Regions from separate parts of the Homo sapiens genome. Here all the other regions are linked to region 3. Evidence: promoter capture Hi-C in 16 types of primary human blood cells and fetal thymus (Javierre and others, 2016). All regions are on one chromosome and are shown on one strand. Each heading gives the region's core, a stretch centred on a gene start or on the middle of the fragment in contact. The rest is flanking DNA. Distances are from core to core; before and after follow the strand shown.

Region 1 (4,234 bases), core at 1,116-3,615, 3.4 Mb before region 3:
GGACTACAGCCGCCCGCCACCACGCCCAGCTAATTTTTGTATTTTTAGTAGAGATGGGGTTTCACTATGTTGACCTTGTAATCCACCTTCCTTGGCCTCCCAAAGTGCTGAGATTACAGGCGTGAGCCACCGTGCCCGGCTGAGCCTCACAGTAATCTTATGACATAATAGTTATTATTATTCATCCCATTTGACATTTGAGATTATCTGAGGCATAGAAAAGATAAATAATATGTTCAAGATTAAAAAGCTAAAAAGCCAATAAATGATAAATTTAGTATCTTAACCCAACCCTTGTCTGACTCCAAAGCCCATGATTTTAACCAACTCAATGACCCACGTGCTATAATATCCACGGTTAGTAATTTCCTTCTTTGTGCTCCTATGTAACTATTTGCATCTCTAAAACGGCATCTCACTCTTATCAATATCCATCTTTCTCACTATGCTGTAAGCTTCTTAAGATTTCAGAATGATTACATTTTGTAGCTTTTTCACAGCTAGCATGGCTTCTTCTCATACGTGATAAACTTAGGTTTACTGTCTTTCTTCTAACGGCCACTTTGCCATCATATGTCTGATTTCTAATCCAAATTGCTGCAGTATTGTGATCATTCAAGTCCGCATCACTTGGGTTCCAGATGTCAAGGAAGCATACTATGTGACAGCTCAGACAGGAACATTACTGACTTATTTTCCAGTAGCCAACAACATGAGTAATTTCCAACATGAGTGAGTGAAAGTGAATTGGGGTGCTATAACTCAGTATGACAAATACTTCATAATTGGGAAATTCAGAGAGTGGGAGCAAAGCCTGGGTGTGGTTGAAGGACCCATAGATAGGTGGGATAAGAGGGAAGTATCCCAAGAGACATTGTAGAAGACATTTCATTGAGTCATTCCAAAGCAGGAACACCAGGCTCTTTAAAGATATTGAGTATAATGCAGTATTGGCTGATTGCATAGTATTGCATAATAATCCATTTAAAATCCCTTTCCCCGTGATGGCAGCTAATTTCTATCAAAAGGATTAAGAAGCAGGACATTTGCAACAATTGTCTCCATGGAGCTTATGTTAAGCTTGATACAGAAAACTCAATCAGAAGATTAAAATTCAACATTTCCTCCTTTCTTTTGGTTGATTGCTTATGAAACAAGACTCCAGAGTATCTCTATATCTCTGGTAGCTCAATAAATGTTCTTGAATGAATTAACGAATAAATGTCACTGCTAATATTAGCACTTGCTCTGCCTGTCCCTTGGACTGGGGAAAAGGGCTTTGGTATTGACAAGCACTTGGGTTCATTGTATGTGTAACTTAGACCTCAAGATTCTTGAGGGGATGGAGAGCAGACACAGCATAAACGGCTACCTATTTATCCTTTTATTTGTATTCTGCTGTTTGTGCAAAGAAAATATTTATGGGAGGGGCACTGATAGAGACCAGACCCTTTGTTCCTCCAAGTCCTCCTCAGAGTAATATAGTAGAAAGCTTTGTTCTTTACAGAGGCAAACTCAGAGTCACAGCTATGCCTTGAGGAGTCCTATACCAGGCTTTGGACAACACCTCCACAAACCATCAACATTTATTAAGTATCAGCTAGGTGCCAGACATTTATTCTGATTAAAGCAAAACAAACATAAACAAAATAAAAATAAGGATAAATTCCTTTTTTTCATGCAGCTTGTATTGTATTTTACCTTTAAAATAAATTCTTAGGAGTGGGAACATCTTCATAATTCTTGATAAATATCAACAAATTATCTTGCAGTTTAGATTGTAAATTCATCAAAGGCAAGGATATGTTGTATCCCCAGCACTTAGTAGAGGACTTGGCACATAAGTGTTTGATAATATATCAGATTGAATTTAATGAAACTGTAGGATTGCCATTAAAAATTCTTTTTCTCCTAAAAATGAATTTGGTGCTTAGAGACACATACTGCTTCTTCTTTGGGACAGCATGCATTAATAGGCACGAGACTGAACTGATGGATGTGGCCTGTGTAGGCTGAAAAACCCAGCAAGGTAAGAAACAGTGCTGGGAAACAAATGACTTCTCAGAACTGAGAAAAGTTATGATCAGCCCGCCAAAGCACTGAAAACAGGAACTGCTCTTTACTTTGATCGTTTTTTCTGTTTTTTTTTTTTTTTTTCGAGACAGAGTCTCGCTCTGTCTCCCAGGCTGGAGAGCAGTGGCGCCATCTCGGCTCACTGCAAGCTCCGCCTCCCGGGTTCAAGCCATTCTCCTGCCTCAGCCTCCCGAGTAGCTGGGACTACAGGCGCCCGCCACCACGCCCGGCTAATTTTTTGTATTTTTAGTAGAGACAGGGTTTCACCGTGTTATCCGGGATGGTCAGGAGACCTCGTGATTCGCCCGTCTAGGCCTCCCAAAGTGCTGGGATCACAGGCGTGGGTTCACCGCACCTGGCCCTCTAGTTTGTTTTTTTAATCTTAAAGCACATTGCTATAGATATGAATGCTAGCAGAAGAACACAGGAGGTCAAAGTTTAGGAGAGTAGCCAAAAACTAATTTTTTTCCCAACACCCTTTATCTCTTCCATGCTTCTTGCAGAAGAGGAATGTGGAGGCCTTAAGGAGAAGATAAATGAAAGGCCAAAAAAAATAAGTCGTGATGTAAATAGATGACACAGCTTGCACATAACCAACTATCTTATACCTGGTAGAGGCAGGCAGGAATGTCAGAAAGGAAAAAAGTAGAGTAATTTATATTGATGTAAGACTATAATTGGGATTGTCTAAGGTGTTTTGGAAATCAATTGAACTACTTTGTGGTTCTGCTTTTGGATCTAAAAAATTAGTTTAACACAGGAAAGTAAAGAAACTATGTATTACGCAATGTAATGATCTAGATAAAATGTTATTTTTTTGAAAGCAACAATTCATTTTGCCCTCATCTTGCCTTTCAAGAGAAAGACTGATTTTAGTGAAACAAGATTTTAATAATTTCTCAGTTAAGTAGAAGGTGGCCAGCACCCAGAGATTCTGCACAATAAAGAAAGGTAGCAGGAAGCAGAGGGAGGGAGTGGTGGGCTGGAAGGAAAGGAGAGAGAGGGAGGAAGGGATCTTGGATAGAATGATGGTAAGCCTGAAGAGGGAACTTAGGTAAACAGCAATGGAGATTTATTAAGATATGTGCTGTGTGGTGTGAAATATAACTCCTTTCCCTGTTCTTTACACAATCTTTAGTAAATCCTATAAATTTACAAAAGCTTTTGATTTCAATGGCTTTGTTATGGTGGTTATAGAAATTAAAAAGAAGATTCTTTTTGCTATATGCATATTGGGTCATGATTGACACTGGGCAAAACTAGAAACTACATATGGGTGACTCTAATCCTTTATCGCTAAGGATACTAAATAATGACATTACATCTTATGTGTAAAATATAGAAACAGGAATATTGTCAGAGCTGCTTTCAGAGGCTGACAGTCACAAGGAGGGTATGGGCTGAAAGTATAAGTGTCCCTAATAAATTAAGGAATAACCGGAGGTAATCAAAATGTTTGACAGTTGACAGAACATCTCTGACTGGGAAACTGACACGGAGGCCTATGGGGCAGATCCCTGCCATCTCTCCAGGGCCTCTGTCAGGTGCAATCTGTCTGGGCTGATTCTTGGTCTGTCCCATGAGGCAATTCTAGAATGCTGGGTTGAGGTATCTAAGGACAGGAGAGATAGCATTTGGTTTTTTGCTTATATTTTGCTTTGTCATTGAATAAAGCAATATTTAGGCATAATATAAAGAAAACAATTCTAACAGCAAGTGAAAGTTTTAAAATATAGGAAAGCTGTTTACAAGGGGAAAAAAGATGAAGATGGCTATTTGTTGTTCATGGATTATAGCCAGTTCTTCCTTCCTTGATGGTGATTCTTATAAGTGATGCGCTGTTATAAACTGGAATAACATCTAATGGCCGGAGTGACTCACTGATGGGAAATTAGTCAACAAAGCACAACAACTTTTAAGTAAAAGGTCAATTTCTATCTTCTGACTTGAGCCACTCTCCCTCTCCCTTTGCTCCTAGAATTTCACCTGGACATCTCTTTTCTGCTTTATTGCATCAAGGAAAGTTAGGCTCAACACTGATTTTTTCAAGCCTCTTACAGGAAGCAAACCTATGAATCAAAGACTAATCGAGTGACCTAATGGCTAGTCCAGGCTTCCTGCCACTGGCAACCCACCAACCCATTCCCTCCTTCGGAAGATT
Region 2 (3,979 bases), core at 346-2,845, 3.5 Mb before region 3:
AACATCTGGAGAGTTTCCTCCAACAGGAATTTATTATTTCAGCCTTGATGGCTTTCATAACTTTTTCTGTAATGAAAAAGAAGGGATGGCCTCTTCAGTGTGTTATCCTTTAAAACTTTCATGATATTTTCTCTGTTGGGGTTCTCTTCCACAGTGTTGACATTTTCTTTTCACAAAGTATCATCTCTATTGAGCCGTAAAGGTCCTTATGACTCCTGATCTAAAGGCTGAATTAGAAACATGTTTGGGAGCAAGTAGACTGCTTTGACACCTTCCATGTTGAACTCCTGGGTTCTGGGTGGCCAGGGACAGTGTCTAAAGTCAAAAGAACTTTAAAGGCAGCCCCTTGGCCAGGTACGGTGGCTCATGCCTATAATCCCAGCACTTTGGGAGGCCGAGGCAGGTAGATCACCTGAGGTCAGGAGTTCGAGACTAGCCTGGTCAACATGGCAGAACCCCATCTCTACTAAAAATACAAAAATTAGCTGGGCGTGGTGGTAGGCGCCTGTAATCCCAGCTACTCAGGAGGCTGAGTCATGAGAATCACATGAACCAGGGAGGCAGAGGTTGCAGTGAGCCAAGATAATGCCACTACACTCCAGCTAGGGGGATAGAGCGAGACTGTCTCCAAAAAAAAAAAAGGGCAGCCCCTTTACTAGCAAGGTACTTTCTGACTTTAGGGACAAAGCATGAGTGGAACCAATTCAGAGAAGGGGGTCTGTCATTGTCCAGGTCTTCTTCTTGTGTAACCAGAAGACAGGCAGCTGGTGTTTATCTTTTTCCTTTGGGCCCTGGGGTTAAAAGCTTTATAAATAAGGGCAGTCCTTATCATAAACCTGACTGCATTTGCTCAGTACGGTAGAGTTAGCCTATCCCTTCCTGCCCTAATCCTGGTGCTCCCTTCTCTTTCTTACTAATAAATATCTTTTGTGGCATTGTTTTTTCCAGAATAGTACACTTCTATCTGCATTAAAAACCTGGTGCAGGCATATAACCTTTCTCAATGATTTTCTTAGCAGCATCTGCTGTTTCTTGGTTGACAGAACCTGCTTCTTCAGTTTTGTTGACATTTTTATAAGTCAAACCTTTCTAAAATTATCAAACCATCCTTTACTGGCATTAAATTCTCCAGCTTTAGATCTGTCACCTTCCTTTTGCTTTTAGTTGTCATATAATAACTTTGCTTTACCTCGTATCATATTAGAGTCTATAGGTATGTGATAGCAATCCTGCACCCCATAAAAGCTGCATTTTCAATGCGAGATAGGAAGGTATTTTGCAGAAATGCACTTTTTTATGCTTGCTGGCGTAGCTGCAGTGATGGCTTTACGAATTTTCTTTTTATTTCTTTTTTTTTTTTTAAACAACGGTCCATATACTGGATTCATTTGTCTTGAAATGGTGGGTAACCATCGCTGCAGTCCTCAATCTGTGGTACATATCAAGCAATTCAACTCTTTAAAATATTGTCGTGATATTTCCCTGCTTCTTAGAAGAAGTACTTCCAACATCACTAGTGGCAGTTCTTATGGATCCCATGTTGTTATTCAAGGTTTATGGTATTGTACTAAACACAATGACAAATATGCAAAAACTTCAAAAGATTTCAAGTTTTATGGTATTGCACTAAACACAATGACAAATATGCAAAAACTTCAAAAGATTACTATTTTCTGCATTATGCAATTTACTGAAGAGAGAAACTGCTCACAATAGAGTCACACAGCATTCTATACAGACACTCAAAACACTTGAGCTTACTGCAGTAGTATCAGGAGGTGGCTATGAAAGTATTCCAGTAATACAGTATGTATTACAGTTAATTTTATGCAGTTATGGTTTAATAAAGCATATTTATATTTGCTTATATTTCTCTTGATTGCAGATAGGGTTGTGTAGTGTTTGTGTGCATAAGTTTTGATAAATTTTTTAAGTTTGTATCATGGATTTGTGCATATTTTAATGGTAGTAAATGATAAAATACACTAATATCTACATATTAGTACATATTATGCACTTACAGTAGCTTTTTCTTAGTTTGTTCCCATTTCTGGGCTGCCTGGATTGGTCTGTGGTCTCTGAGTTTTTCAAATTGTAAGTTTTTGGGAAAAAATTCCAATATATTTATTGAAGAAAATATGAGTGGAAGTGAATCTGCATGGTTCCAATCTGTGTTATTCAAGGGCCAGCTGTGCATACTTTGTATTAAAGGTTTATATTCCTAGAAATATATTTTTGATATTTGGTTCCCCTGAGTGTTAATTAGTTATTATTTTTTAATTCTCTTCACCATTCTAGAGGATGTTAAACGTCTGAATGAAAAACTTAAAGAAAGCAATACAACAAAGGGTGAACTTCAGTTAAAATTGGATGAACTTCAAGCTTCTGATGTTTCTGTTAAGGCAAGTACCAGATGATTCCTAATGCATAAACTATAGCTTTTTATTAAAACTCACCTAAATTAAATTTCAAATATAGGCAATAAAGTAATTAAAAGCTGCATTTTGTTTTGTTTTTAATGTCAGAAAATTAAGCATTAGGACAATTCTAGTTCATCTGTTTTGCTTGTTTGAAATTTAAGTTTGTTACAGTTCTTAATGTTTTCTAGTTAAGAATCTATGCAAATACTTAATTTCTGTTTTGAAATAAAATTCTGCTTGTGTCCCTTAGCTACAGACAAAATCTTTTGAATAATCATATATCATCTTTAACTGTACGTGTTATTTTCTTGGATTTCTTTAGTATCGAGAAAAACGCTTGGAGCAAGAAAAGGAATTGCTACATAGTCAGAATACATGGCTGAATACAGAGTTGAAAACCAAAACTGATGAACTTCTGGCTCTTGGAAGAGAAAAAGGGAATGAGATTCTAGAGCTTAAATGTAATCTTGAAAATAAAAAAGAAGAGGTAAGTTAGTAAAATTGTGTTTTTCTTCATGTTGAGTATAACTTACATTTGTATGTCAGTTTATTAAATATGTATTCAGTAGTGTGTACCTGATTAGTTGTAAGATGAGTGGTTAAATGTGAATAATGCATTACATTTGGCGTAAAAAATCAACCAATTGCGTTTACATAAAGAATTTAAGATTCTTTGTCAAATCTGGTTAGTATCTACTGTCTTACGATATATCTTTCCTAAAATATGTGTTTGTTTAAGAAGTGGTGGTAAGTTTTTGTGAGCTAAATCTAAACATTGTTCTGTGAGCAGTTACTCTTAGTTTTCTTAAATATGCATATTTTAATTGCTTTTTCAGGTGGGGAGGGGGAGTTACTTAGCTTTTCCTTAGCAGCATAAACCTCATGTCAGAGTAATTTCAGTTAATATGACATCCTTTCCCCCTGCTCTATTTTTTGTTTTTAGGTTTCTAGACTGGAAGAACAAATGAATGGCTTAAAAACATCAAATGAACATCTTCAAAAGCATGTGGAGGATCTGTTGACCAAATTAAAAGAGGTATATATGACCATTAAAATGTCTTTTTTACAAAATACTAAAGCACTTACGAAGCTGTTATTTCACAAAATGATGTCATTTTTTAATCTGTCCTTGGCCCCATAAAACAGTGAGAGTCCTCCTTCCATATGCTGTAGCTAGGCTAAAATAGAATCAGAAATAGCAATTATATGTTATATTGAAAATACTATCTAAAAAATGAGTATGGGTTAATTTTATTGTTTAATTATTTTACTTTGAATTTAAAATATTAGTAATATTTTATCCTTAATTTATCTTTGTCATGAAGACTGATTTGAATTTGAGTGTTTTAGATTTAGCTCTTACTTTACAAAAATGGAATTTTTCATCTTGTCATTTGATAAGCATTCTAAATTTAGTTCAAAGTAGACTGCTATAATTGGGCTATTTTTTTCAGGCCAAGGAACAACAGGCCAGTATGGAAGAGAAATTCCACAATGAATTAAATGCCCACATAAAACTTTCTAATTTGTACAAGGTAAATATCCCACCACACATGTTA
Region 3 (4,522 bases), core at 685-3,184:
CTCGTTCTGTCGCTCAGGCTGGAGTGCAGGGGCGAGATCTTGGCTCACTGCAACCTCCGCCTCCCAGGTTCAAGCGATTCTCCTGCCTCAGCCTCCCGAGTAGCTGGGACAACAGGCGCCCGCCACCACGCCCAGCTAATTTTTTGTATTTTTAGTAGACACGGGGTTTCACCGTGTTGGCCAGGATGGTCTTGATCTCCTGACCTCTTGATCGGCCCGCCTCAACCTCCCGAAGTGCTGGATTACAGGCGTCAGCCACCGCGCCCGCCCGTCGTTTCTCTTTAAAGTCCAAAATTAAGTTCATCCAACTGTGGCACTAACTCACCCATTTGCATGCTAACTTGGCATCTCAGTCAAAACAGAATTTTAAATTTCCCCTCAAATCTGTTCCAACACCCTACCCCTACATTTCGGTTTCCATAAACGGTACGACATCCACCAAGTTACTCCTGGCACAAGTTGAGAGTCGTCCACTCCCTTAAGATTCTCCATAGCTATCCCTTGTAGAACCCTTAATGTGTGTCAAACAATATCCATAATAGATCATCTAAATGGAACTATTTTACTTAATCCTTAGTAACCTTGTACAGGTAAGATCACTATCCCTTTAGAGAAGGGGAAACTGAGACAAAGAATATCTTGCTTCAGGAAGACAGAGCTCCTAATTATAAGAGCAAGAATTCGGGCGGGCGCGGAGGCTCACGCCTGTAATCCCAGCACTTTGGTAGGCCAAGGCAGGCGGATCACGAGGTCGAGAGATCGAGACCATCCTGGCCAACATGATGAAACCCCGTCTCTACTAAAAATACAAAAATTAGCTGGGCGTGGTGGCGCGCGCCTGTAGTCCCAGCTACTCCGGAGGCTGAGGCAGGAGAATCACTTGAACCCGGGAGACCGACGTTGCTGTGAGCCGCCATCGCGCCACTGCACTCCAGTCTGGCGACAGAGCGAGACTCTTGCAAAAAAAAAAAAAAAAAAAAAGGCGCAAGAATTCCAGAAAACGTAGCCTGACTCCAGATCTACTACCTTCCACCACTACGCATTTCTGCTTCAAAATACGTCCCCTATCCATTCGTTTCTCCCCATCTCTCCTGCCACCACTACTGCACACCCGGGCTAGTGAAATATTGTCCTACACGGTTTTTGTTTCCACTCTTGCCACCCTAAAACCCATTCTCCTTTGAAGGCCTTCTCGCCACACTCCAGTCACATGGCCTGCTTTCAGCTCCCGCCCAGTTTCTGCCCTTAAGCGATAACTAATCCCTTCCGCTTCTGCAGGCTCTGCTTTTCCTTCGCGTTGGCCGAGGTTATCAGCTCAAAGCCTCCCTCCTTCGAGACGCCTTACCTCGCTATACTAGCCAAAGGCGCTCTCCCTTTACATTCTTCAATTTTTTTTCCTCTACCCACAAGGCCTGCACGACGGCGCCAGTTATTCGTGGCTTGAATGAATGAAGAGCCCTAGGCCAGTGGCGCCCCGGCGGCAACCACCACAGGCGAAGCACCCCCTTCCCTCAGCCGCCGCGGTGCCCCGGCGTACGCAGGCCAGAGGAGGAAGCGCGCTTTGCCTGCTAGAGGCAGCAGCGGGAAACGCTGGGCGGAGGAGAGGGGAGGGGGCCACAGGCTGCCCGGACGGCGCAAGCGCATCGCGGCGAGGCGCGCACGCAACCCGCAATCCGGGGACCCGCGGGCGGCTCGTCCCTTCCCCCACCCCCAGCCGCCGCCGCCGCCCGCGCTTCGCAACAAAGCCGGCTGCGGAGCCATGGTCCACGGCGCCCGCCCGCGACCCCGCCGCCCCGCATGGTAGCCGGAACGTCTCTCCCTTACCAGCCTTCGCTTCCTGGTGCCCAGCTCTTAGGACCGTGTGTGACTCTGGCCTTCTACCGAGACAACAGAGAAACGCACAGCAACTCGCATGGAGGAATCGGCGAAATGGCTCCGACCGCGGCGCTAGGGGGCGGGGCCAGCGAGCGTACGCATGCGCAGAGCGCGTGCCAGGGCGGGGGATGGCGAGGGCGCGCCAATGGAGGGGGCGGGGCTCAGCAACCTCGCGGCGCGGAAGGGTTTCGTTGCTAGGGAGATGGGCTGAGCCGGGCGGGCATCGCGCCAGACCTGCTACTCTGGATAATCCACTCTCCTGGATAATCCACTACCCTGGATAATCGGCTGCCCGCTTTTGCGCATGTTAGGGAGTTGACGGCCTGTAGCATTCTGATGCAGCAAAATATTTCGCAGGGTCTGTCATAGGGATCTCCGGTGAGAGGAGGTTCCCTTCGAAGGCAGAACTGGAAACCTTGCTGCTAACTTGGTAGGGTTGTTGAGATAATTACATGAGATGGCATATGAAGGGCGGCTTAGTTCAATACCTGGCATGTAGTAGGTGTTCAGTGGGCGTAGTTACCGGATTGATTCAGATAGTCTGAACGCCAGTGTCTCTTGAAAGAAATAAACTGGCCGGGCGTGGTGACTGTAATCCCAGCACTTTGGGAGGCCGAGGTGGGCGAATCACTTGGGGTCAGGAGTTTGAGACCAGCCTGGCCAGCGTGGTGAAACCCCGTTTCTACTAAAAAAAAAAAAAAAAATACAAAAATTAGCCGGGCATGGGGGCGGGCGCCTGCAATCCCAGCTGCTTGGGTGGCTGGGCGGGCTCCTGCAATCCCAGCTACTCGGGAGGCTGAGGCAGGAGAATCGCTTGAACCCCGGGGTCGGGGGCGGAGGCGGAGGTTGCAGTGGGCCGAGATCACGCCATTTTCTGGGCGAGAGAGCGAGACTCCGTCTCAAAAAAAAAAAAAAAAACCATGAAAGAAATAAGCTCAGTGAAGGCGGGCATTCTGCCTGGCTAACGCAGGTCGCTCCTTGCCGTGCCTGGAACATTACTGTAAGTGCTCAGCAAACTACTTTAAGGTAGGAATAAAATCTGCAAGGTTGCTTTTGTTTAAATTGGATAACCTTTTGTGTTCCAAGTCTTTGGAGTAATTTTGTGTTCCAAGTCTTTGGAATAATTGTGTCCTTAATTATTATACTAGTCACTGTTAAATTTTGAAACTCCAGTGCGTCCCATGAAGGTAATGATACAAAACATTTCCAGCTGGGATTGTTCCAGGGAATCCAGACTAATCAATTATCTGGGCTCATTATATCTATGGATCTTTATTTTTCACCTCTTTCCTTATGTTTTTCTTAATCCTTCTAGCTGATAGTGATCACTCCCTTTAAAACTGTCATTCTTAAAATCAGAACAACATAGTTTATCATTTACTTATTATTTTCTTCATGTGATTGTTCTCCTTAATTAAGAATAAAATCATTGAAGGAAAGACCTTAATTTTTTTTTTTTTGTACCCTTCAGGGTGTTGAAAGCAGCAGGGGCCTAGAAGACATTAAACCGATACCACAGAAATACAAAGGATCATTAGAGACTATTATGAACAACTATATGCCAACAAATTGGAAACCAAATGGAAATGGATAAATTCCTGAACAGATACAACTTACCAAAATTGGACCAAGAAGAAATAGAAAACCTGAAAAGACCAACTATGAGTAATGAGATTAAATCAGTAATATAGAGTCTCCCATCAAAGAAAAGTCCAGGCCCTGATGGCTTCACTGCTGAATTCTACTGAACAGTTAAAGAAGAACTCATACCAGTTCTCAAACTCATCCTGTGAGGGCAGCATTACCCTGATACCAAAACTAGATATGGACACAAGAAAAAAAATCTATAGGCCAGTATCCCTGATGAACATAGATGCAAGAATCCTCAACAAGACCAGGTGTGGTGGTTCATGCCTGTAATCCCAGCACTTTGGGAGGCCAAGGCAGGTGGATCACCTGAGGTCAGGAATTTGAGACCAGCCTGGCCAACATGGCAAAACCCTGTCTGTACTAAAAATACAAAAATTAGCCGGGCAAGGTGGCGTGTGCCTGTAATCCTAGCTACTTGGGAGGCTGAGGCAGGAGAATTGCTTGAACCTGGAGGGAGGAGGGGCAGAAGTTGCAGCGAGCTCAGATCGTCCCACTGCACTCCAGCCTGGGTGACAGAGTGAGACTCCATCTCAAAATAAGTAAATAAATAAAGAGACTCAACTAGCATAAATGAATTGCAAGTGTTTTATAGTATATAATGAGCACAACAAAAGTATCAATATATTACATGGAAATACATTTTTCAAAGCTGGATCTTTAGCTTCCAAGGATTAAGGAGAATTTTGTTACTGAGTTGGTTCTTAATTTAGGCTCTGCACCTGAGACCTAGAGTCCCCTGGGATTTGGGTCCGAGGACTGGCATTACCTTTGTAGGTGGCTCTTGGCAACTAGCACTGTCTAAGATCTTAACATTTGCAAATGAAGCCTTAAAACATGTCCCAAAAGTATGGAAAGTGGGCCGATTTCAACACAACCATTACCTGTTCCTGGTAGCTGACCAACTAGGAGATTTCAGAGGTCAAGTGGGACAGAGCAGGGTAGGGAATTTTTTTTTAAGCTTTATTATAAAACAGGTAACTTTGTCCCTATCTTAAGA

What was found. Contacts are between HindIII fragments. The CHiCAGO score rates a contact against its expected background, and 5 or more counts as called.
Region 1: a fragment that was not itself captured here is called in contact with the fragment with the promoter of DHX9 in region 3 in 1 of 17 cell types (total CD4 T cells); the score reaches 5.6 in total CD4 T cells.
Region 2: a fragment that was not itself captured here is called in contact with the fragment with the promoter of DHX9 in region 3 in 10 of 17 cell types (erythroblasts, total CD4 T cells, fetal thymus and 7 more); the score reaches 12.5 in erythroblasts.

Annotation. Positions count from the first base shown.
Region 1 is chr1:186,286,819-186,291,052 of GRCh38, reverse strand. No RefSeq gene overlaps it. Among named protein-coding and RNA genes, the nearest start is that of PRG4, 7.3 kb to the left of the region's middle. The HindIII fragment of the contact is 1,742 bases long and covers 1,495-3,236 here.
Region 2 is chr1:186,361,765-186,365,743 of GRCh38, reverse strand. It overlaps TPR (translocated promoter region, nuclear basket protein), which reads left to right. Exons shown (of 51, transcript NM_003292.3): 5 at 2,299-2,402; 6 at 2,743-2,907; 7 at 3,364-3,456; 8 at 3,875-3,955. Among named protein-coding and RNA genes, the nearest start is that of TPR, 11 kb to the left of the region's middle. The HindIII fragment of the contact is 1,578 bases long and covers 807-2,384 here.
Region 3 is chr1:182,836,759-182,841,280 of GRCh38, reverse strand. DHX9 (DExH-box helicase 9) reads right to left here and starts at 1,934. Exons shown (of 28, transcript NM_001357.5): 1 at 1,825-1,934. DHX9-AS1 (DHX9 antisense RNA 1) reads left to right here and starts at 1,690. Exons shown (of 2, transcript NR_148933.1): 1 at 1,690-1,969; 2 at 3,347-4,522. RefSeq lists a silencer at 1,615-2,044 and an enhancer at 1,468-2,309. The HindIII fragment of the contact is 6,331 bases long and covers 1-4,485 here.